5 separate regions of the Homo sapiens genome follow, and regions 1, 2, 3 and 4 are each linked to region 5. The links are contacts of gene promoters, found by promoter capture Hi-C in human tissues and cell types (Jung and others, 2019). All regions are on one chromosome and are shown on one strand. Each heading gives the region's core, a stretch centred on a gene start or on the middle of the fragment in contact. The rest is flanking DNA. Distances are from core to core; before and after follow the strand shown.

The links. The method cuts DNA at HindIII sites, captures the fragments that hold promoters and counts their contacts. A contact is called where the count stands out against the background at its distance.
Region 1: a contact is called between a fragment that was not itself captured here and the fragment with the promoter of ABCC12 in region 5, in 4 of the 25 tissues and cell types used here (IMR-90 fibroblasts, dorsolateral prefrontal cortex, lymphoblastoid cells and 1 more).
Region 2: a fragment that was not itself captured here is called in contact with the fragment with the promoter of ABCC12 in region 5 in 2 of the 25 tissues and cell types used here (H1 embryonic stem cells and mesenchymal stem cells).
Region 3: a fragment that was not itself captured here is called in contact with the fragment with the promoter of ABCC12 in region 5 in 1 of the 25 tissues and cell types used here (mesendoderm cells).
Region 4: a fragment that was not itself captured here is called in contact with the fragment with the promoter of ABCC12 in region 5 in 2 of the 25 tissues and cell types used here (dorsolateral prefrontal cortex and lymphoblastoid cells).

Annotation. Positions count from the first base shown.
Region 1 is chr16:47,812,993-47,817,571 of GRCh38, reverse strand. No RefSeq gene overlaps it. Among named protein-coding and RNA genes, the nearest start is that of LINC02133, 43 kb to the left of the region's middle. The HindIII fragment of the contact is 9,923 bases long and covers 1-4,579 here.
Region 2 is chr16:47,854,839-47,859,321 of GRCh38, reverse strand. All of the region lies in intron 1 of LINC02192 (long intergenic non-protein coding RNA 2192), which reads left to right. It overlaps LINC02133 (long intergenic non-protein coding RNA 2133), which reads right to left and starts at 741. Exons shown (of 6, transcript NR_110650.1): 1 at 1-741. The HindIII fragment of the contact is 3,351 bases long and covers 765-4,115 here.
Region 3 is chr16:47,871,894-47,876,641 of GRCh38, reverse strand. All of the region lies in intron 1 of LINC02192 (long intergenic non-protein coding RNA 2192), which reads left to right. The region is part of intron 2 of LINC02133 (long intergenic non-protein coding RNA 2133); the gene reads right to left. Among named protein-coding and RNA genes, the nearest start is that of LINC02192, 13 kb to the left of the region's middle. The HindIII fragment of the contact is 4,464 bases long and covers 1-3,960 here.
Region 4 is chr16:47,781,622-47,785,964 of GRCh38, reverse strand. No RefSeq gene overlaps it. Among named protein-coding and RNA genes, the nearest start is that of LINC02133, 75 kb to the left of the region's middle. The HindIII fragment of the contact is 3,218 bases long and covers 938-4,155 here.
Region 5 is chr16:48,153,399-48,157,647 of GRCh38, reverse strand. It overlaps ABCC12 (ATP binding cassette subfamily C member 12), which reads left to right and starts at 1,655. Exons shown (of 31, transcript NM_001393797.1): 1 at 1,655-1,807; 2 at 3,764-4,032. The HindIII fragment of the contact is 12,201 bases long and covers 1-2,026 here.

The DNA.
Region 1 (4,579 bases), core at 1,862-4,361, 340 kb after region 5:
TATCAAATGTCAGGCCCTGTGCTAACCTCATTTAACCCACGTAATGTTCTTATAAGGCAGGTTCTATTATCATCCCCATTTGACAGACGAAACTGTTGCACGAAGTCTGGTATCTTATCTCGGGGATGAAAAAAGAAATCACGATCTAAACAGTGATCCTTGATTGCTAACTGAGATTTTCATAGAAACTGAGAGTCCAAATAATCTCTGTTTTAAAACTTCAGTTACCTTGTTTTAGCTGAGCTGGTGTCCATTTCTATGGAAACAGATGTAGCAGCAGAGGAGTGAAAATTGGCTTTGGTGAGCGTCAGAAACAATTGCTGCCCGAAAGCAGGACTGTCGCTTCCTAAATCACACCTGCCCAGCCTGAGACATAAGGGACATGGCTGGAGTTTGTAGATTATTGGCTTTGGAAATTAAAAAAGAGAGTTATGCCAAATTTGATGCTTAACTCCTCAGCTAAGTCTCACTAGTCAGTCTAAATAATTCAGGCAAAATTAGGGTACTTTTTTTTAACCCAGAGTTTGCAGAAACTCTGTCTAGTTATCTCCAACATTTTTTAGATAATTGCCAAATATTCTATCTCATTCACAAGGAAAAAGCTTGTTTTTACCAAAAAGTAATTACTGTCATTGAGTGACTATTCACTCTGTGCATAGCAATATAGGGTAATAATTTTATAATTACAATCTCACTCCTTAAGAAATTGTCACATATAACTTCAAGCACAAATAGTTTAAAGTTTATCATGGAAATTTTGAAACATCTACTAAACTAGATAGAATAAGGCAGAGTTGGAAAATTTTGTCCCATGAGCTAAATCTGGCCTGCCACCTGTTTTTGTAAATAAAGTTTTAGTGGAATGCAGCCACATTTATCCATTTACATATTGTCTATGGCTGCTTTCATGCTGCAATGGCAGAGCTGAATAGTTGTGATGGAGACCATATGGCCTGCAAAGCCTAAAATATTTACTATCTGGCCCTTTAAAAAATAGTATACTGACCACTGATCTAATGAACACCTATAGACCCATCAGTCAGCTTCAGCTCATTAGAAGCATGCATTTGCAGGTGAACTTGACTGTTCGAAGTCTTTCTTAGTGCCCCTTATAAGCCATTCAATTATTTATGCAACATAAATATCAACAGTTAAAAATTGTTGCAAGTACATGTACAATAACCAAATCAAGAAAATGTTTAGATAACAACATGGGATTGCTGTGATTTCTTCTTCCCTCTCTTGATGTATGTCACTCTGGAGTTGGGTACTGTAGAAAAAGAGAGTAGCACAAAATCCAAGGCTGAGAAAGTGAAAAGGTGCTTCAGAGAGGTGGGTGGCAGTGTAGGAGTGAAGGAAGAGCCGACAAGGAAATCTACAGAATCCTCTCCCCTTATACCCCAAGCCCCAGGAACCTGCCCAGCATACACCCCCAGCACTGATTCCAAGATTTTCTTAAGCTCGGCCCCTCGCTTGCTCTGCTGTATAGAGCAGCTCATTCACCAGCTCTGGCCAATAAGTCCACAGAAGACTCAAGTTTGCCCTGAAATACAAGGGCATGATCCTTGTCTTACCACAGGATTCTTCAGATCAAATGCATATATGCATACATGTGTTTCTTCAGAACACTGTAGTTCACACTCATAGTAGATTTGTAGTTCACACTGTAGTTCATAGTGTGGTAGATCTGAGAAATCATGTGGTGGGACCATCCAATTAACACTCAAGAATTTGGAGTGATGACATCACTATCATCACAAAAATGCAAGTTAAAACCACAATGAGATGCCATCTCACACCAGTCAGGGTGGCTATTATTAAAAAGTGAAAAATAACAAATGTTGGCAAGGCCATGGAAAAAAAGGAATGTTTATACACTTTTGGTGAGAATGTAAATTAATTCAACCCCATGGAAAACAGTATGGAGGATTTCTCAAAGAACAAAAAATGGAACTATCATTAAACTCAGCAATCAAACTACTTGGTATCTACCTAAAGGAAAGGAAATCACTCTATCAAAAAGACATCCACATTCGTGTTTATCATCACACTGTTGACAATAGAAAAGTCATGGAATCAACCTAAGTACCCAACAACAGTGTATTGGATAAAGAAAATGTGGTCCAGCTACACCATGGAATAGTATGCAGCCATAAAAAAGAACAAAATCATGTCCTCTACAGCAACATGGATGCAGCTGGAGGTCATTATCCTGAGTGAATTAATGTGGAAACAGAAAATCAAGTATCACATGTTCTCACTCATAAGTGGGAGCTCAACAATGGGTACACATGGATGTAAAGATGGAAACAATAGACACTGAGGACTCTGAAATGAGGGACAGAGGGAAGGAGTCAAGGTTTGAAAAACTACCTATTGGGTACTATATTCACAGTCTGAGTGGTGGGTTCAATAGAAGCCCAAACCCCAGCATTATACCATACACCTGTGCAACACATCTGCACACGGACCCTCTGGATCTAAAATTAAAAATACTCCAGGCACAGTGGCTTATGTCTGTAATCCCAGCACTTTGAGAAGCTGAGGTGGGTGGATCATTTGAAGTCAGGAGTTCAAGACCAGCCTGGCCAACATGGCAAAACCCCGTCTATGCTAAAAAAAAACAAAAAACAAAAAACAAAACAAAACAAAAACACACACACAAAAATTAGCCGGGCACAGTGGCCCATGCTTGTAATCCCAGCACTATGGGAGGCTGAGGCGGGCAGATCACTTGAGGTCCGGAGTTCAAGATCAACCTGACCAACATGGTGAAACCCTGTCTCTTCTAAAAATACAAAAAATTAGCCAGGCGTAGTGGCACTTACCTATAGCACCAGCTACTCGGGAGGCTGAAGCAGGAGAATTGCTTGAACCAGTGAGGCGGAGGTTGCAGTGAACCGAGATCATGCCATTGCACTCCAGGCTGGGCAAGAGAGGTTCTGTCCAAAAAGAAATAATAATAATAATTAAATAAATGACATTGAAAAAAATGAATTTGGAGAAAAACAAATCAACATCAATAACAACAAAGGGGAGAAGTTCTTCCTTTGTCTTCCCCATGTCTTGTAACATTTTTCAATGTGCTTTCAGATTTACCTATTTATTTTATCCTCAGAACCTGCCTTTGAGGTATGTAGGCAATTTACCTGAATCTGCCTTTTATAGATGAGGAGTTCAAAGCACCGAGAGAGAAACACCATTTCTAAAGGTCATGTAGGGGCAGGATAGTCCTGAAAGCCAGATGGGGAATCCAAGCAATCTGACTTTGACTTCAGATTCTAATGCATGCCACCTCTGTCTCCTTAAGCAAATTTCTTAACCCCATTTTATGTCTTTTTTCTCCTTTGTAAAAAGTGGATAACACCTAACAGGTATTTAACAAATTTTTTCCATAATGTAGTATCCTAGAGAGAAAAAAAGAAGCTCAACATGATTTTTTAAAACTTGTCTGGAGTGCCCTGTGGGGTGGAGCCAAGATGGCCAAATAGGAACAGCTCCAGTCTACAGCTCCCAGCGTGAGCGACACAGAAGATGGGTGATTTCTGCATTTCCAACTGAGGTACCAGGTTCATCTCACTGGGGAGTGCAGGACAGTGGGTGCAGCGCACTGTGCGTGAGCAGTGAGCAGGGAGAGGCATCGCCTCACCTGGGAAGTGCAAGGGGTCAGGGAATTCCCTTTCCTAGTCAAAGAAAGGGGTGACAGACAGCACCTGGAAAATTGGGTCACTCCCACACTAATACTGCGCTTTTCCAATGGGCTTAACAAAAGGCACACCAGGAGATTATATCCCGCACATGGCTCGGAGGACCCTACACCCACAGAGCCTCACTCATTGCTAGCACAGCAGTCTGAAATCAAACTGCAAGGCAGCAGTGAGGCTAGGGGAGGGGCGCCCACCATTGCTGAGGCTTGAGTAGTAAACAAAGTGGCTGGGAAGCTCAAACTGGGTGGAGCCCACCACAGCTCAAGGAGGCCTGCCTGCCTCTGTAGGCTCCACCTCTGGGGGCAGGGCACAGACAAACAAAAGGCAGCAGTAACCTCTGCAGACTTAAATATCCCTGTCTGACAGCTTTGAAGAGAGTAGTGTTTCTCCCAGCATGCAGCTTGAGATCTGAGAACAGGCGGACTGCCTCCTCAAGTGGGTCCCTGAACCCCGAGTAGCCTAACTGGGAGGCACCCCCCAGTAGGGGTGGACTGACACCTCACACAGCCGGGTACTCCTCTGAGACAAAACTTCCAGAGGAACAATCAGGCAGCAGCATTTGCGGTTCACCAATATCTGCTGTTCTGCAGCCACTGCTGCTGATACCCAGGAGTTTGTTGGAGTGGACCTCCAGCAAACTCCAACAGACCTGCAGCTGAGGGTCCTGACTGTTAGAAGGAAAACGAACAAACAGAAAGGACATCCACACCAAAAACCCATCTGTACATCACCATCATCAAAGACCAAAGGTAGATAAAACCACAAAGATGGGGAAAAAACAGAACAGAAAAACCAGAAACTCTAAAAATCAGAGTGCCTCTCCTTCTCCAAAGGAACACAGCTCCTCACCAGCAATGGAACAAAGCTGGATG
Region 2 (4,483 bases), core at 1,191-3,690, 300 kb after region 5:
TGCGTTGCAAGGAAGGATTTGGACTCTGGGAGAGGCAAACCAGTTCAAATCCCACCTTCGCCACTTACTGCCATGCAGCCTCGGGCACATCACCTGGCCCCTCTGCGCCTCCATTGCCTGGTCTTTAAAAGGGGGATAATTAGCACAGCCTGTATCCAAGGACAGTCATCGGGATTGCTGAGTCCATGCCTGTGTTTTATCCCAGTGCCTGGCACATGCAAAGTGCCCAATAATAATAATTTGTTGTTGCTATTGCAGGGGCTCAATAAATGTCATTTCCCTCCTCAGGACGAGAGCCTTGGCACCTGAGCCAGATCATTCATTTCTTTTTCTCTTTTGATGCCAGTGATGACACATAACTTGCCCCAACAATGTAGCTCCCCGGGAAGATTTTGATGGGATAACAAAAATGTGTTTCTTGGGCTTTCTACAGCTACAGCCCTATGACTCCTGTCATGGAACTGTCAAAACAAGCTTGAAACATGCATGGGCTTTCTGCCAAGTCCTCTTGGAGAGGGAGAGATGTAGCATGCACTCCTTTCTTTCTCTCTGCACTGTCCCTACTCCCACCCACCCCGATCCTTCTGCAGCAACACACTGTGTCAGCCGTGCTTGAGTGGTTTGGTAAAACAGGGCTCATTTTAGCTCCCTTTGGCAGAACACAGGGTGGTGTGGAGACGGCCGGAGAGTAGAGGCACGTGAAAATGGTTCAGAAATGCCTGGGAGATGCCATCGGTTTGTACCAGGTGCTAGACGCTAGGGTTATGGCTGCTGTGCCCTCGTGGCTGACTTTGAGTCATGGCTTGTGAAACTCTGCATGCTGATCAGGAATCAGAGCAACTAAGGACAGACAAGGACACCCATCTACCTTGAGTCAGGTCCTTCAGAGTGATCTGAGATGCCAAGGGCAGCAGGTGGCTGCCAAACCTTATTGCCAAATTGTCATAGCTCCTTTGTTGTTTCTGGTTTTGATATCAATCTTGTAAAACAGAGACGCTCCTGCTTCCTAAGGTCTTGGAGTCAGGAATTTGTAAAAAACAATTTCACTTCAAGCTTCCACAAACACACTGTTTCCCCTGCCTCTGCTTCCCTGTTGTGACCAGGAAGGCGGTACTATCATACAGTTAACCCTCCACATGAGATAAATAGGAATCTTTTGAAAGCCACTGTATTCCATCCATAAATTATCAGCTGTACAGATGCAGACCTCTGGCTGACACAGAAATCACTCCTCCAAATCCCCACCATGTATAGGCATTTAGAAACAACTCATTGTACTTCACTGGTCCCCTGTTTCCCTTTAGAGAGGTTTATAGTGGTCAAGACTCTTGGGTACAGATGATAGAAACCCACCTGAAATTGACCTAAGCATGAAAGAAGACATACTATTCCCATGATAGAGACACTTGGGGGTAGTTCAGCTTCGGGCACAGCAGGATCCAAATGTCAAAAAAATATTTCCAGCCAGCTGCGGGGGTTCATGCCTATAATTCTAGCACTTTGGGAGACCAAGGTGGAAGGATGGCTTGAGCCATGAGTTTGAGACCAGCCTGGGCAAGATGGCCAGACCCTGTCTCTACAAAAATAAATTAGCCAGTCATGGGTGATGTGTGCCTGTAGTGCCAGCTACTCAGGAGGTGCAGATGGGAGAATGCCTTGAGCCCAGGCATTCCAGGTTGCAGTGAGCTATGATCGCACCACTGTACTCCAGTCTGGGCAACAAAGGGAGACCCCATCTCACTCTGTTGAGCTCGCATTGTCCAGCTATATATATATATATATAGCTGACATATATATATATATATAGCTGACATATATATATATAATAGCTGATATATATATATATAGCTGACATATATATATATAGCTGACATATATATATATAGCTGACATATATATATATAGCTGGACATATATATATATATGTATAGCTGGACATATATATATATGTGTGTATATATAACGATTTTATTACCTACATCTTAACATCTTACCTACATCTTACCAGTTTAGCCTCCCCAGGAGAGTGAGGTTTGCTTTACTAATATTTCCAGCAAAAATCTTAGCAAAGGATGGCCATGTCTCTGAGTGGCCCTACCCGTGTCTCATGCCTATCCAGGACCCAACCTCTGTGGCTAGGGGTATATCCTTACATGATCCCCATGTTAATAGCTGTTATTGACTACTATGTGCCAAGTCTTTAACTATATTATCGCTCATCTCACAACAAAATGAAAGATATCTATTTACTATCCCCATTTTTCAAGTGACGGAACAGGATTAGAGACGTTAAATAACTTGCCCAAGTTCACATCCCCCAAATGGAGAAACTAAAATTTTGGCTCAGTTCTCCAGGACTCCCTATCAGAGTGCCAAAATGGCCCATCTCCCTGCAGCTGCAGAATAAGTGAGCTGTCTCATAAAATGTGCATTCATTCCATAGACATTAATTAGGCACTGCTCTGTGCAGTCACAGGTTATGACTGGAAGATTCCTGGGACATTTCAGCACTCCAGGCACTAGCTTCCTCAAGCCCCATATGGACCCCTTCTGGAAACCCACCTGGTAATAAATAGTAGGACCCTGGTCTCTTGAGAGACACATGGCTCATCTGGTAATTCTGGGTAGTAGAACCTTTCCAAAGAGGAATAAGTCATCATTTGCAACTTCTGCCCTACCTGTTTGACTCACTCTCAAAAAGTCTACCATCTAGGTAAGATAAAAATAAAAAGGGGGTCACAGACCAAGTTTGCTTGGTCCCTATATTTTTTTCTGAATTGGATTTGTTACCAATACTGAAAAGATAGGACTAGTATTTCACATTCAAAGCCATGTTTCCGGTTTCTTCTAAATATATCAAATGTGGCAGCATTGAGGCCAGATTCTTACATGGCAAAGGTCAGTAGGAACTGACAAGATGACTGGCTGCTGCTTTGGGGTGGGGCGTGTGCTCTCCGGTTTGCCCTAGTCCCTTTCATTCCTTATTGCCTTACACCAAGGCTGCCTTACTCATTGACTTTACCTGCTGAGTGAGCAGCACAAATGCAGTGTGAAACAGCACAAAAAAGAGGCGATGAGCATGCAGAGAGAGGAGCAATGAGCTCCCCTGGGTGGAGAAGGGGAAATGAGAAAGAGGCCCCAGCCTTAAAGGAGGAGTAGGGTTTTAAATATCAAAGTTTCTTCACATGTAGGGTGGATTATTATTGGTAGAGTGGAGCACTGTGGGGAAGGGATTTGCCAAGGTGAGCGATAAGCATGGGAAAAGCTACAGGCAGAATGTCCACCTAGTGTTTGGGTAGCCCTGCCCGCAGAGGCAGTATGTCAGGAGGTCACATAATGGAGAACAGGCAAGATAAAAGACCAGCTGGACTGGATTCTGCAGCGGCCTCACCAGCCCACTGGGGCCTCTGAACACGCGCACACACACACACAACCCCAACACACACAGAAGCTCATGGGTCCAGAGGTGCACTAGTGCCCACTGGGCCCTAGGGACCTCCAAGTGGGCCTGGGGCTGGGAAGCTGTGCTCCAGACTCAGGCATACCTCGTGCTCCCCATGAATGTGATTGTATCCTCCACCACCCTGGTGGGCATCTTGACCCATCCTGCAGGGGTCAGGGCCTCTCGCTGCTCCTCCCACCATCTTTAACACCTGCCACCCTGGCTGCTCCTGAGCCAGCCTCCTCTCAGAACAGGGGATTGTCCCCAGCTGATTCTGGGTCCCAGAGTTCTGTGTTGCCCTCCTTGGGCTGGGGCCAGTAAGGTACACGAAGGGAGGGCAGGGAAGAAACAACCATGTGCCCAGCACATCTGGTGCTTCCTCCAGCCCCACTTTGAAGGTTGACATCCCTATCCTGACTCTCCAAGGAAGAGCCTGAAGCTCACAGAGGTTGATGACTGACTGCAGACAAGGCCTCTCAGCATCCATCTCATCCTTTGTAGCATAAGGATCATGTACAAGTCTCCCAAGTTTTTTGTGAAATTTAGAAATAGTGTGTAAAGTGCTGGCCTGGTGCCTTGTATGCATTCATTAGTTAAAAATAATTAGTGAGCATCTATTATACCCCAGGCATAGTGCTTGGCACTAAGTTACAACACTCAACAAGGCAGACTGTAGAGAGTTACAGTCAGGGGTGTGTGTGTGTGTCTGTGTTGAAATTCTGTGTGTGTGTATGTTGGGGTTGTGTGTGTGTGTTGGATGTGTGTGTGCTGGGTATGTGTGTGCTGGGTGTGTGTGTGTTGGAATTCTGTTGGAGGTGTGCATGTGTGTTGTGTGTGTGTGCTGGGTATGTGTGTGTTGAGATTGTGCTGGGCTTGTTTGTGTGTATGTTGGGATTCTGTGTGGTGTATGTGGTGTGTGTTGGGATGTGTATGTGTGTTATGGTTGTGTGTGTGTGTGTTGGGTATGTGTGTGGTGTGTGTATGTTGGGTTTGTGTTGAGGTTGTGTGTGTTTTGGGATGTGTGTGTCAAGATTGCGTGTG
Region 3 (4,748 bases), core at 479-2,978, 280 kb after region 5:
TCTTAACCAAAGCTGGGCAGGACCATCTCAGAGCACACACTCCCAGGCTTCGCCTCCAGCGACACTTCATCATTATTTCACTGTACAGCAAATCCTCACTTCACGTCGCCAATATGTTCTTGGATGCTGCAACTTTAAGCAAAACAATATATAACGAAACCGATTTTACCATAGGCTAATTGATAGAAGTAAGAGTTAAGCTCCTATGTTTCTGGTCACAGAAACATCACCAAACCTCTAGAAAAAAACCCAAAACACTTCTGATATTAAACACTGAAATAAATTGAACTATCCATACATTAAGAAAGATTAATTAAAAACAAGTAAGATAATTATTTACCCAATTATTCCAGTTAAGGATTTCAGGAGCCCATCCCAGCAGCTCAGAGCACAAGGAAGGAACTGACCTGGCTAAGAGGCCGTCCCATGGCAAAGCACACACACCCGCACTCACTCCAAATGGGACAAGGAGACGCACTAGTGAGCCTCCCGTGCACGACTGGGATGTGGAAGGAAACCAGAGTATCCAGAAAAAATCACACAGGTATTGGAAGAACTTGCAGACTCCACACAAACAGTGGCCCCTGACGGGAATCAATTTCTTTTCCTTATCAATATTATAACAAAATGGCATTGAACAAAATGACATTATTTAAGGACCTGCTGTATTTCCAAAACCTTTCCTGGGTGAGCCTGATCCACACCATATGCTCAGGAAGTTCTGGCCTCGTTGTTAATTAGATCACTGCCATAGAGGCGGGGACACACCTGGGCTCAAGTCCCAGCTCCCCAGTCACCAGCTGTGTCACCTGGGGTAAAGTTATTTACCCTCTTCAAAACACAGGGGATAATAGCAATAGAGCCCAGCTCAGAGGGATGTTTTGAGGATTAAATGGCATGATATGTGTTGGGCCTTTAACACAGTGTCTGGCGTATGGACATCCAAAGAATGCTAGCTATTATTTTTATTTTATGTAGTCTGGGAAACCTATACTTATCTGATAGCCGAAGACTCCACATAAAGCTACAGCCTCATGAAGGTAAATAAGGTTGAAAGGGAGCATGTAACCAAACGTTTTGTACTGGACAGAAAAAAAAATACAAAAACCTTATAAATCCGAGGCTGGGTATGGTGGCTCATGCCTGTCATCCCAGCACATTGGGAGGCTAAGGCAGGAGGATCACTTGAGCCCAGGAGTTCAAGACAAGCCTGGTCAACATAGTGAGATCCTGTATCTACAAAAAAAATTGTTTAATGAGCTGGGTATGGTGGCACATCCCTGTAGTCCAGCTACGTGGGAGGCTGAGGTGGGAAGATCACTTAAGCCCAGGAGATTGAGGCTACAGTGAGCCATGATCGTGCCCCTGCACTCCGACCTGAAAAAATCCTATAGATAGGGAGTTTCAATAATAAACTTTGACCAAAAAAAAGAATCTGTTCCACTAGGTGAAAACTTCACTCTTTTCCTCCACATCTAAACTCTGTCTTCCTATATATTCTCCCCAGCTGAGGGACAATTCCTAGCATGAGCATTTCAGTATAGGAAGAGCTTGGAATGACCTTTGCATTCAAGCACACATTGTGGATTTCTCAGAAAATCTCCAAATCTTCCAAGGTTACTCAAGCACACACTGCTGAACTGATGATGTTCTGAATCAGGCCACTTTTTTTTTAGCACTTTCCCTGATGAGGGGTTACCATGAGCCATCCATTTTGTTGTTCTGCAAAGAAATTACCCCATTCCAGGGGATAAAACTGTTTCAAAGGAGCTAAGAAAATAAACACATTTTCTCTGTATTAAAGCCTCTGCCTTCTTTGAACTTCTCATTTTTAGAGTATCTCCACTGATAAGGACAAATGTAATTTTCACCATCAGTGGATCTGAACAGACAATTACATTAAGGCAAATAAGACAGGGTGAGGCCAATGATGTGAATCACATTGTATGCATCTCATGTGCAAACAAAACTCTCAGATAACAATGAACACCCTCGAAAAGCAGTCAACATTTTTTTTTTTTTTGCATCTAATCAGGGCCCAATTTGCATAAACATTTCTTTACCTACCACCTCCACAAAATCAGTTACTGGCATTTGGAGATCTGGGAAGAGGGGAGAATTCAGTCAACATTTAAGACATTTTCCCTAAGGGAACTGCTCAACTCCCTTAGGAAGGGCTTACAGGTGCCTGGCAGAAGCCATGCCCTCATTGCTGCAGCAGGGCAGGTTTACAAGGCACTCTCATGCGCGTTCCCTGATTGGTCCTCACCACAATACTCCAAGCTTGGAAATTCAGATCGTTTCTTATCTTTACAACGAAGAGAAACCCAAGATTACAAGTGGTTTCATAGGAAATGGCAGGACTGGGATTGAAGTCTTACTTTCCTCTGGAGAAGCCTAGGTTTGCCTCTGAAATCTCCATCCAGTCAATGAGTATCAGCCAATCCAGTAGGTTTGCAATGGTCTGATGCTGCTCTTACTCCCAAGCACAGAGGGAGACACTGGTTTAGAGCTCTGCAACGAAACAAAAACTTGGAAAGGGGCAGCAGGAACTGAGCTCAGCCCTGCTGAGATTACCATTTTTGCAAGTGGCGTTTGAGCCAGCCCAAGTGCGGGAAGCAAAAGGTTAGGCTCACAGAATGAACTCCGTGTTGAGCTTTTGTGTGCAGGAGAAAGGGAAAGAAATGATATTCAGGAAAGGAGTATGACGGAGACCATGGGGAGGGTAAGACAGGCCTGAAGCACATGTAGAGAAAGGCAACGGCCTGCTCCTTAAAGCCTCCCTAGTGCCTTGGCACCAAACAGAACAGAGGTCCAGGCAGATGTGCCTCGGAAAGGAAGTTGGCGGCTCGTGGGGTATTATTTGCAGGCTTCAACAAGCATGGCACTCAATGTTTGATGAGGGCCTTGGGTGCTATCCAATGTGGGGGTGCACTGGTGTCACAAAGCTAAGTGAACTCTCCCAGCCCACCCTCCACTCCTTGGCCATTGACTTGCTTCTGTCTCCCCCTAGCTGCTGATGTGGGTGGTGGAGGGCACTGATGCTACTTCTCTGTGTATGGGGGCAAGCATGGCACAAGAGGGAGGAAGGGATGAAGGTTGAGGTTTGCAGAATGGGTTTCTTTGGGTTTCTCCAGAGAAACAGATAGCCCATTAAAGGGTTCAGCCCTACGTTTTGCTACTTTATGCATCGTTCCCAGGGAAAAAAAAAAAAGAGACAGAGAGAAAGAAAGAGGAAGGATGACCATTATTGGTGGGGGAAAACAGCTTGCAATCCATGACCTAGACATTTACTGGGGCTCCATCCAGCTCTGAGGCTCTAAGATTTTCCCCTTTCTACCAAAAATGGACCTGCTTCATTTCTCTAGCCTAGTATTTTCTTGCAGTGAGGTAAAATATCAGCAGGTATTTTATATGGTACTTGAAAAGCATTATTTTGATAGTTATGCATTTATTTTAAATTATTGTCTCATGTTTACAGCAACTGATGCTGGATTTGCATTTATGATAGTAATATGAAATGTCTTTTTAAAGTCGATTTATTTACACCTTTAAACAATGAGTTGCTTTCATTATTGAGTAGTTATTAAGGAGTAGTATATGTCTAACATGGCAATGGCAAAAAGCATGGCATCTGATTCACAAGAGTTTGGTACCTGCTGTGCCAACCCAATTGGTGGAGTCGGCTAAGCACTGGCATAGAAGCCAGTGGAGTACCCAGCAGGACACCCAGACCCACCCCGTCTCATAGCAAGTCAATAGGAAACAATGGCTACTGCACAATAATTCACAACTGGCCATGCATGGCTCCCATCCCAGGGGCAAGGACAGGCTAAAGACACAAGATATAACAGGTGATGGCAAAGCAAAGGCACTGCCCACAAAGGGTAAAGTTGGGGAAGACCCATGGTCGGGGGGAAGGGATAGGACCCTTTCTGAGCTTGTGTCCAACCTCTGCCCTCTAGCCTAGCTGGTCTATACCATCCTATATCCCCGCTGTTTACTTTCACCTCCTTATTTTTATGTTTCCCATGACTGAAATGGCCTCTGCTCTCCTGTGTGTATTTCAGAATTCAAGTCCCACTTCCGTAAAACCTTCCCTGAAACTCCAATAGCATAAATGTTTTGGTGCCTCCCTTTGGCAATTTCCATGCTCTGCCCCATATCGCTGCACCCTGCCTAGAGATGGCAGGAAATGCACCCCATTGACATTTGAGATGATTTAAGGGTGAGCTGACTCAGTCTTAAATAACATTAAATCACAAAGTGAGAAAGTCACTCCCTTCTGCTTCTGCTTCTGCTTCAGTGTGTCCGATTAAATCAAGAAGGAAGTCTCAGCTTGGGAGTAACATGTCTTTAACAACCACAACATTTGCTAATCTCCCCTTTTAACAAAGAGCTTTGGATGAGAACCCTCATCATGTAATAGTATTCGTCCAGAACTTAACATTATTTTGTTTTCTATATATGTATATATTTTTTAACTAAAGCAAATTATTCTGGGTTTTCATTTGAAATGGTGATTTTTAAATCAATGTCTTTAAATAAAAATCTAGTCAACTGGAATAAAATATTAGGCAGTAGCACATAATGCAGCTCCATGTAAGGTGCTGTTGTGTGGACATGAAAAACATTGGGAAGGTGCTATAGCAATGACCAACATTCAGAAAACATGGCAGCTTTTCTGTGGGTACAGTTAATCTGTTCATCTCCACATGGCACAGATTGACTGGGATGCCAGGAGTGAG
Region 4 (4,343 bases), core at 1,297-3,796, 370 kb after region 5:
ACAATGGGGCCTTAGGTAAGTTCCATTCCTAGAGAGTTGGTTACAAAAGCACATGGAATAAGCATTACTTGGAAATGTACTGAAATTCATCTCAGTTATCCCCGTGAATTCCTGAATTGGCTACCACACTATTGAAGCACATTAGGATTTAATTCAATACCATAACAACCAAATGTTTACAATATGCCCAGAACTATGCTAGGTGCTGGTGTTTCAAAGATGAATCAGTCAGCCATAATACCCAAATGCTTTTATGCACACTATTTTTCTCAGAAAGTGATAAAATTTTGGAAACAGACTTTGGCAAAGAAATCTTCTTAAGCTAAAAATAACAGGCAGGATAGATATTCCACCCACCCCAGTTTTCAAGCATTTTTAAATGTCTGTGTGACTCTCCACCGGTATAAAAGAATGTTGCTTTTTGGAATATCTTCTCATTCTGAATTAATTAGCAAGGTGAGCTGGAATCCATATCTAATTCTTAGGCGATTTGGCAAGATGGCAGTAGCTCTGCAGTGTAAACTGTTTACCAATGAAGCTAAAGCCTGTTCGTTTGATCTGATGTGTGGCATGCTATTCAATTGCTCCAAGGGAGGGGAGGAGAGAGTATTTCTCCTAATAGTCAATCTTACCCATGATTGCAATGTCTGCATTCCAAATGAATTCACAAATACTAAAAAACAATTCTATGAAACAATCTGTTGCAGAACACATAGAAAATCTGCCATGACATGAATAGGATATGGGTGAAGGAGCAGAACTGTAGAGACTGCTGGAGAGAAGGGACCCTGTTGGATTGGGGCTCAAAAATGAGGACAAAGTCCCAGGCAGGATTGAGAAAAATGGACTAAAGTTCATTCTAAAGAGAAAAGGGAGGAAGGAGGGTCTCATTTTCTGACAGCTTTCCAAAGTTTCCTCCCACAAATTCTATCTTCTTTCCAATGCAACACCATAGCCACACACATCCTCAAAGCAAAGCCCGTTGTTGAAACGGGCCATTCAAGGGCACATACCACCATGTTTGGATGTTTGACCATCTCAGCCTTTGCTGTTCCAAATAAACAATTGGCATTCCAACCCACGAATTAAAAATCTCAAACATACTTTATAGCCAGCTCCCTCAAACCACAGCCTATCACTCAGCTCATATAGACAGGCCTTCATCCCTCAAAGTCAACTCACTGGGAATAAAAATATGTCTGGTCAAAGTTATTTTTCCTTTAAAATTGGAGTATTCTAAGAAGTTTTAAAAGGTTTTTTCCCTAACAATTTAGCTAATAGAGAGGGGAACCAAATATCGAAGTTGTCTATACCTTCCTAGTTCAATGCCAATTTGTTTTAATTTCAAACCTCTATATGATGAAATATAATGCAACTCAAGTAAGTAAATAAGTGACACTTTAGCAATCTTTACAAAAACAAAAACAAGAAAACATTTACTCAGGTCTTAAGAAGAGGAGGTGGGATCATTGGTCAGTAACCTTCGGACCAATAACAAAATGATTAAAAAAAAAACTTCAAAAATTTGGGGAGCGAATGTTGGTAGCTGTGTATAAGGAAGCATTTTCCAACGTAGTAAAAAGATTGGAATAGAAACATAAACGCTTGCAACATCACTTGTCTTAGGTCAGTTCTCTGGGAAACAGACTGAGATGGAGATTTTCATGCCAGAAGTTTATTAAAGAGTGACTTAGGAATTAGCACCTGTTTGACAGTGAAGAAAGCAGAAATGGGTAAGGGGAAAAGGTGAACTTTGTTGCAGAAACAAAAAAGCCTCAAATGATCCCATGTGGAGCTCTGGTGCTAGAGTTACCCTTAGTTGCCCAGCCTGGAGGCAAGCAGGCTGGACCTTTGCATCCCTCATTGGCCAGCCCAGTCATTGACCTCAGGAAGGGGCATGAACTTAGATGAGGTGGCTTTCTTGGGCTGAGGGCAAGTCCTACAAAGCTACTCAACCAAGAGTGGTTGGTTGCCACACTCCCTGCAGCTAAGGGAACAGATGCCTCAAATCTAAAGCAGATCTGAGCATCAAGCCACCACATTTTCTGTATCACTGAAGGCCAGGGGTATGCCTGATTGGTCCAGGATGCACGTCTGCCCTCACAGAATGCCCTCAAACTTTCAACATTTCCATCCTGCCTTCTGCCATTGGAATAGGTTCTCTTCCAACAGTACTCTCTGTTCACTGGCTTGGCTCTACCTGCCATCCAAACTGAGTCTACACAAACTTTGGTCTGCACTCTTATTTCCATTGAGGAGGGAAAAACCTGTTCTGGTGCACACGGACTCTCTGCTTCTCCTCTTTCCTCCATTCTAATGGCACTCACAGGGCTCCCAATGTTCTTGGCACTGCACTCAGCCTGGGATTTGCAAGATGAATAGGACACCAGCCCTGTCCTTGCAGAACTCACAATCTGTTATTACAGGAAACAATGAAGACAAATTTCAAAGCAGTGTGGTAAAAGCAATGATAAATGTCATGAACAAAATATTTTTGAGAAGCTAAAGAAAGGAATGACCAAACTCTGCTTTGAGAACATCAGAGAAAGCTTTCTTCTGGAAGAGATGCTTGACCTTGACTTTGAAAAGTGGGTTGAGAGCTGCCAGATGGGGAGCTGGAGAGTGGATGTGCTAGGCAGGGTATGTGCAGAGGTGCGGGGTAGGGGCTAGAGTCATTTAGGTTAGGGTTTGGGGAACTATAAAGTGTAGCATGGCTTGGGTATAGGGTATGAAGAGCCCGTTGTGTCAAGCTAATGAGTTTGGATTTTATTCTGTAAGAAACAGAAAGCTAAGCTAATGGAAATTTTCAAGTCAAGGGTGACATAATCAGATTTACTTATTATTAAAATATTTAAAGGAATTGTGAAAGAAGAAAGAGAATAAAGGGGAATTTCCAAATAGGAGATCAGACAAGAGATGCGAAACATTTTGTTATTAAATACTCCAAATTTAGAGAATGTACTGAATATCTGGTTAATATAATAGATTCAATAAATCCTACCCTTTTGGGATATTTGCTTCAGATATTCTAAAAATAAGAAATAAAAGCATACAGATACTGTTGAAGGCCTTATTGTGTCTCTTCCTTGATACTTCCCCTTCCTTCTCACTCCATACCCCCTGGGACAGGAGACAGGAGATACAGCCTGTGAGAGGAGGCTCTGGAAATAATTGAGGAGTGAGAAAATAAGGGATGGTTTAAAGCAATGGCAATTAGAAAGAAGGTGAGAGAACAGATTCAAGGGGCTTTCTGGGGTATAACTATAAAATTTGAGGGGAATAGATTAAATGAAGGAAAAGAGGAGGAGAGAAATGGATTACAATTCAGCCAGTGATACTGTTAAGGAAACTTAAGAATGGGAGTGGTCTTCGGAATACTACACAGCCACAAAAAAAAAAGAATAAAATCACGTCCTTTGCAGCAACATGGATGGAGCTGGAGGCCATTATCTTAAGTGAATTAATGCAGGAAGAGAAATCCAAATACCACATGCTCTCACTTATAAGTGGAGCTAAACACTGAGTATCCATGGACATAAAGAAGGAGAAACAGACTCCAGGGCCTATTTGGGGGTGGAGGGTGGGAGGAGGGTGAGGATAGAAAAACTACCTATCGGGTATTATGCTGAGTATCGGGGTAATAAAATGATCTGTATACCAAATCCCCACTCCATGCAATTTATCCACATAACAAACCTGCACTTGTACCCCTTGAACCTAAACTAAAAGTTGGAAAGAAAGAAAAAATCAGTGTGGCAAAGCAAGTTTGGATAAAACAATAAAGTTTTACTTGCATAGTTCTGGAGCTCCTTGAGATGTCAGGGCTAGAGTGACCCCCCTGACGTTCACATGTAGATGATGCGCTGAACTTTGGTCTCCTACACCCTCTGCCTTCTTGTTTCTAATTTTTGTCTTTATTGTAAACAGTATGTAGATGGAGCTTCTGAGGGAACTAATTGCCAGATCAGAATTACAGAGCTACGAGGAAGGGAGCATTTGGCATCCGGGATTTGAACATACCAAGGATGCGCGGGAATTCCTCTCTTATAGCTCCCTCTTGCCAGAATCGACTATTATCATTTTGACAAACATTTGCTAATCTGATAGGCAAAGAATTGCTTCCCTTACTGTTGTTTAAATTTGCATGTCTTTGATTATACTAGAAGTTGAACATGTTTCCATATGTTTGTTTACTGCTTTGCATTTCTTATTTTGTGAATCATCTGTTCATGTCCTTTGCCCATTTATCTAGTTAGGTTTAAATGTTTTCATCATCAGTTTTAAGAGTCCTTTATATAACAAAGCTATTAACCCAATGTCATGTGGCTGCAAATATTTTTTCC
Region 5 (4,249 bases), core at 406-2,905:
TTTCTATTTTTTTTCTTTTTGTATTCCAGTGGATTATCTCGCCCCCCCGCGAGCTGTGTGTACACCCAGGATGGGCCTCAGTTCCCTGACTATGGGTGAGTCCACGCTCTGCCTGGAACAGGAGCTTGGCTGGTCTTTTCCTAAGGACTTCCTTGGATACAGACCGGACAGTCCCTCTCCATCATTCTCCACTCTGTTTCCGGCTAGGCCCACCAATCTTCTTGCGTAGCGCCCAATACTGTTTGTCTGGGTGGAAATCCATCTCCGCCCAGCCTTTCATGGAGATAGAGGAAAACTGATCGGCATTCTTCCTCCATAAACTTGACAGCACTTGACTCCGTTTGGAAGATTGTGGAAGCGAGTCTTTGCTGTGTTTATGAGACCCCCGGGGTTGTTGCGAAGATCAAGTGATAAAGAGGATGAAGAATTTTGCGATACACAAAGGGCTCCAGAAATGTCGAGTGATATTATTAGCAGTGATTTGCATTCATGAAGGGAAGAATGGACGGAAATTAAATGGAACACTTTGGACACGTGTAAGGAAACTGCTGTCGGTCTAGCTCACTCCCCAGGCCGGGGAGCCTTCCTGGGAGGACCCATTTTCCTACACAGCTGCCCACAGCCCCTCTCCATTTCCACCTCCCTCTAGGTAGGAAGGGAACTCAGGTTGGGCAAAGGCGGTGAATTCGCATCTCCAGGAAGCGGCGGGGCCGGAAGGCAGCCAGCAGGGGGCGGCATTGCGCAGGACAGGAGAAGGTAGCGGCCAAGTTCCTCATGAAATCCACGTGCGTGAGGCTGGGAAGGTCCTCTAAGATGTTTAAATAACCCTTAAAGCGGAATCAAGATTTGTTTTTTTCTGCAGTTAGAGAGTTTGCTCCCTCCCAGCCGGCTCGCTGAGCGCTGTGGAACCCTTCGGCTGGGCTCCCCTGAAATCGGGCGCTTGTTCTGGGACAGGCGCAGAAGGGACCCCGGGAATCACGCTTGCGCTCGGGATGTGCAGGGTTCCAAGGGTGACACAGGGGAACTTTTCTATGCAAGGGCTAGCTGCTAGTGCAGGTCTCAGACTTACCTTCCGTTCATTTCAAGACAAATTGAGCTCAAATTACCCTTTTCTTTTTCGTTAAATGAATGGGGAATGAATGAATGAGATTTTCTGTTTTGAAGATGAGGCTCATCTCCCCTCCCCTCGCCTCCCCTGCCCTCCCCTACCCCTGCCCTCCCCTACCCCTGCCCTCCCCTCCCCTCCCTTCCCTTCCCCTGATCCCAAAGTTGATTCCCGGTTGCAGGAACACAGCGTAGAAAATTCGATGCATTCTCTCAGGAAGGAGCCTGGAGTGGGACTCAGGGGACCTGGGTGCTGGTCTCAGCCCCACGCCAGTCGTGGACAGGCTTCTGTTCCTTGGGCTTCTCGTCTGTAGAATGACGGTTGGAGAGAGGATTTTTCTCCTTCTCTTCTACAAGGATGTGCTGTGACAGCCAGGGAAGGGCTGGCCATGCACAGTGCTTTCATGCATGGGCTCTGACTGTCACCAAAGAGCCAGACCCGGCCACAGGCCATCCTGGAAGAGGGGAGAGCCCTTTAATGTGGGCAGAGGGAATGTTGGCCCGCCAGAGTTCCCTCTCAGGTGTGGTGGGAGTGGCAGTTGAATGGGGCAGTTGGAGAGGAGGACTTCAGGCGGGTGGGACAAGAGAAACTGAATCTGAGGTCCTTGGGGAGAAGCAGGCCCTGGAGTCCTGGGCAGCAGATGCCAGGCTCTGAGCCCCATGACTGCTGACCCTCCTCCCCTCCCTCTCATCCTCAGCCCAGGTAAAGCTTCATTTCCAGCCCAGGTAAAGCTTCTCCCTGTAACAATTAGTGGCCACCATTTAGTCCCAAGGGCCTTTGTTTCTCATCCTCAGGACAGGCTGTGTGTGTGTGTGGTGGGGGGTTTGGGGGAGGTGACACCACTGAATGGGGCTGCCCAAGTGGGAGGCAGCAGGGACGAGGCTCCCAGAAGAAAGGCAGCCCCTCTTCCACTTTTGGAGCCCCCGCTATCATAAAAGAAAAGGCAGAAATGCCAAGACGCGATTTCAAAATCTCTGAAATACAAAAGCCTACATTGAATATTTTAAGTCTTTTCCCACACATGCACAAACACAAACACATATACAGGGTAGTGTTCACAATTTAATTATGGGATTTATACCTCCCCCCCAAAAAAAAAGACCTGGAAAGCTTTACTGCAGTTCTCATATGAGGTTTTCATCTTTCTTTCTTTTTTTTTTTTTTTTAACTTTTAAATATATTATTTTCCTGGGAGGGTAGATTTGAATTGCTCTGAATCCAGGCTCTGCATCCTTCTTTGATCGTGTCGGAATGTGTCTGTAACTGGATGGATGACCTCTTTTGGAGATGCCATCACTGGCCACTGTTTTAGGCCTTCTGGGAGATGAGGGTACTTGAGCAAAAGCACCCCCACTTCCCTTCCCACACCCCCAGCTTGGTGCTGTCCCCTGCATGCACTTCCCTCTGCCACCTCTCTGCCTCTCCCTGCCTCCCAACCCCAGTCCCTCATCACTCACAGGGCTTTCTGATCTGGCTGCCACAGGTGCCTGGGACCTGGGGACAGACAGGAGAGGTGCGGTGCAGGCAGGGCCTGGGAGAGCTCCCCAGTGTCTCCTCTGTGCTGGAGGCCAGTCAGGCCCTGGAGGAAGGGGCTGTGGGAGTTGGGGGAGACCATCAGATATTGATAACTTTGGTGGCTTTAAATTAACAATGGATTTATTAAGAAAGAAGTAGGGCTGTAGTCTCATACCTGGGAAAAATTTTATGACTAAAGGTGTGCCTGCTTTTGGTTGATGGAGGAACTCCCATCATGAGCACCAAGGAAGACCCAGAGTCCAGTTCTCAAACATAAAGTTGTTAATTTTCTGGGCTAGACAGGGGCAGAAATGAAATATAACAGAGCAAAGTGGGCAGGTGTGGAAAATGGTTCTTCTTGAGATGACTTCTAGACATCTTTTGTTCTCTCTTGGGGCAGAGACAAGGATAGAGAAAAAGGCCTCAGGAAACACTATAAGGAAGACAGCAGTGCCAATGCAATAATAAATGTTACATGACCCCAAATCTCAGAGTCACAGAGACAGTAAGGAGTGGTGGGGATTGTGGCAAACTAAAGCATGTATACCCTGCCCAGGAGGGGCTGCCGTGCTCAACGTAAGTGGATTGTCACCACATGAACATACAGAGCTCTTGATATTTGACGAAAGCCAGAAGCCAGTCTTATTTTTTTTTTAATGTGGTATCTCCTCATTTTTAAATGTTTTCCACAAATTGGAAAAAAATGTTTAAACTATGCAGGCCATATAAAATGGAACTGCAAGTTGTACATGGTCTTTGTGTCCTGTGCTCTAAACAGAGGCCTTCCTGCTTCTGCCTGTCCAGTCTGTTGAGGTTAGGTTAGGAACCCCCTGCCTGCTAGCAGAGGGGTGCACCAGTGACTTTTTGGCATCTCCTGCCAACCCTCAGATGCTCTGCATGGAAAACACAATGCCAAGAACAGAGCCATGATGGCTGCAGGGACCCTGGCCCGGTTGGCACTGCCTCCTCCCAGCTCTCATCAGCTGTGTACCCCTCAGACCCCATCCTGTGATTGCCAGCAAACAGATTTCTCACCCCAGGCAGCTCCTCACTCCTGGCAGAGGATGGCGTGACAGACGGGGATAGAGACGTTAGCCAAAGCAGGCTTCCTGATTTTAAAAAAAGTCTCATTTTTCCCCCCAGGGCTGCCAAATTTAGCAAAGTGCCATTCCAGCTGCAATGCTTCCAAGCCGCCTCAGATCATCAAAACTTCACATGCCCTGGGGAGCACTCAAGGAAATTACCTTCTAGCACCAATTTCCTATGCGCGCTGATTACTCAAACCTGGCCAGGGAGGCCTGGCCTCCAGTGTTTGGCATCTGGGACTCAGGAGCCCTTAAGACAAGCTGATGACATCTTGCTGCCAGGGTCCCTTACCATTAGAAAAGGGAACCAAAAAATAGAAGTTATAGGTAAGGGTTCTCCACTGACAATGAGTTCCACCTTCTCAAAGGGGCTGGGAAAGATTAGCCTGGATGAGAGAGGACTAGCCACTGGGTGGCTGGGAGTGAGTTGTCGGAAATGACAATGGTCCTCAAATATCACAGGGCACATGAAGAGGACATCAGTGGAGGATGCATGGCTCCTGAGAGCTGAGAAGTGTGCAGAAAAATTGCATTTAGTTCCACA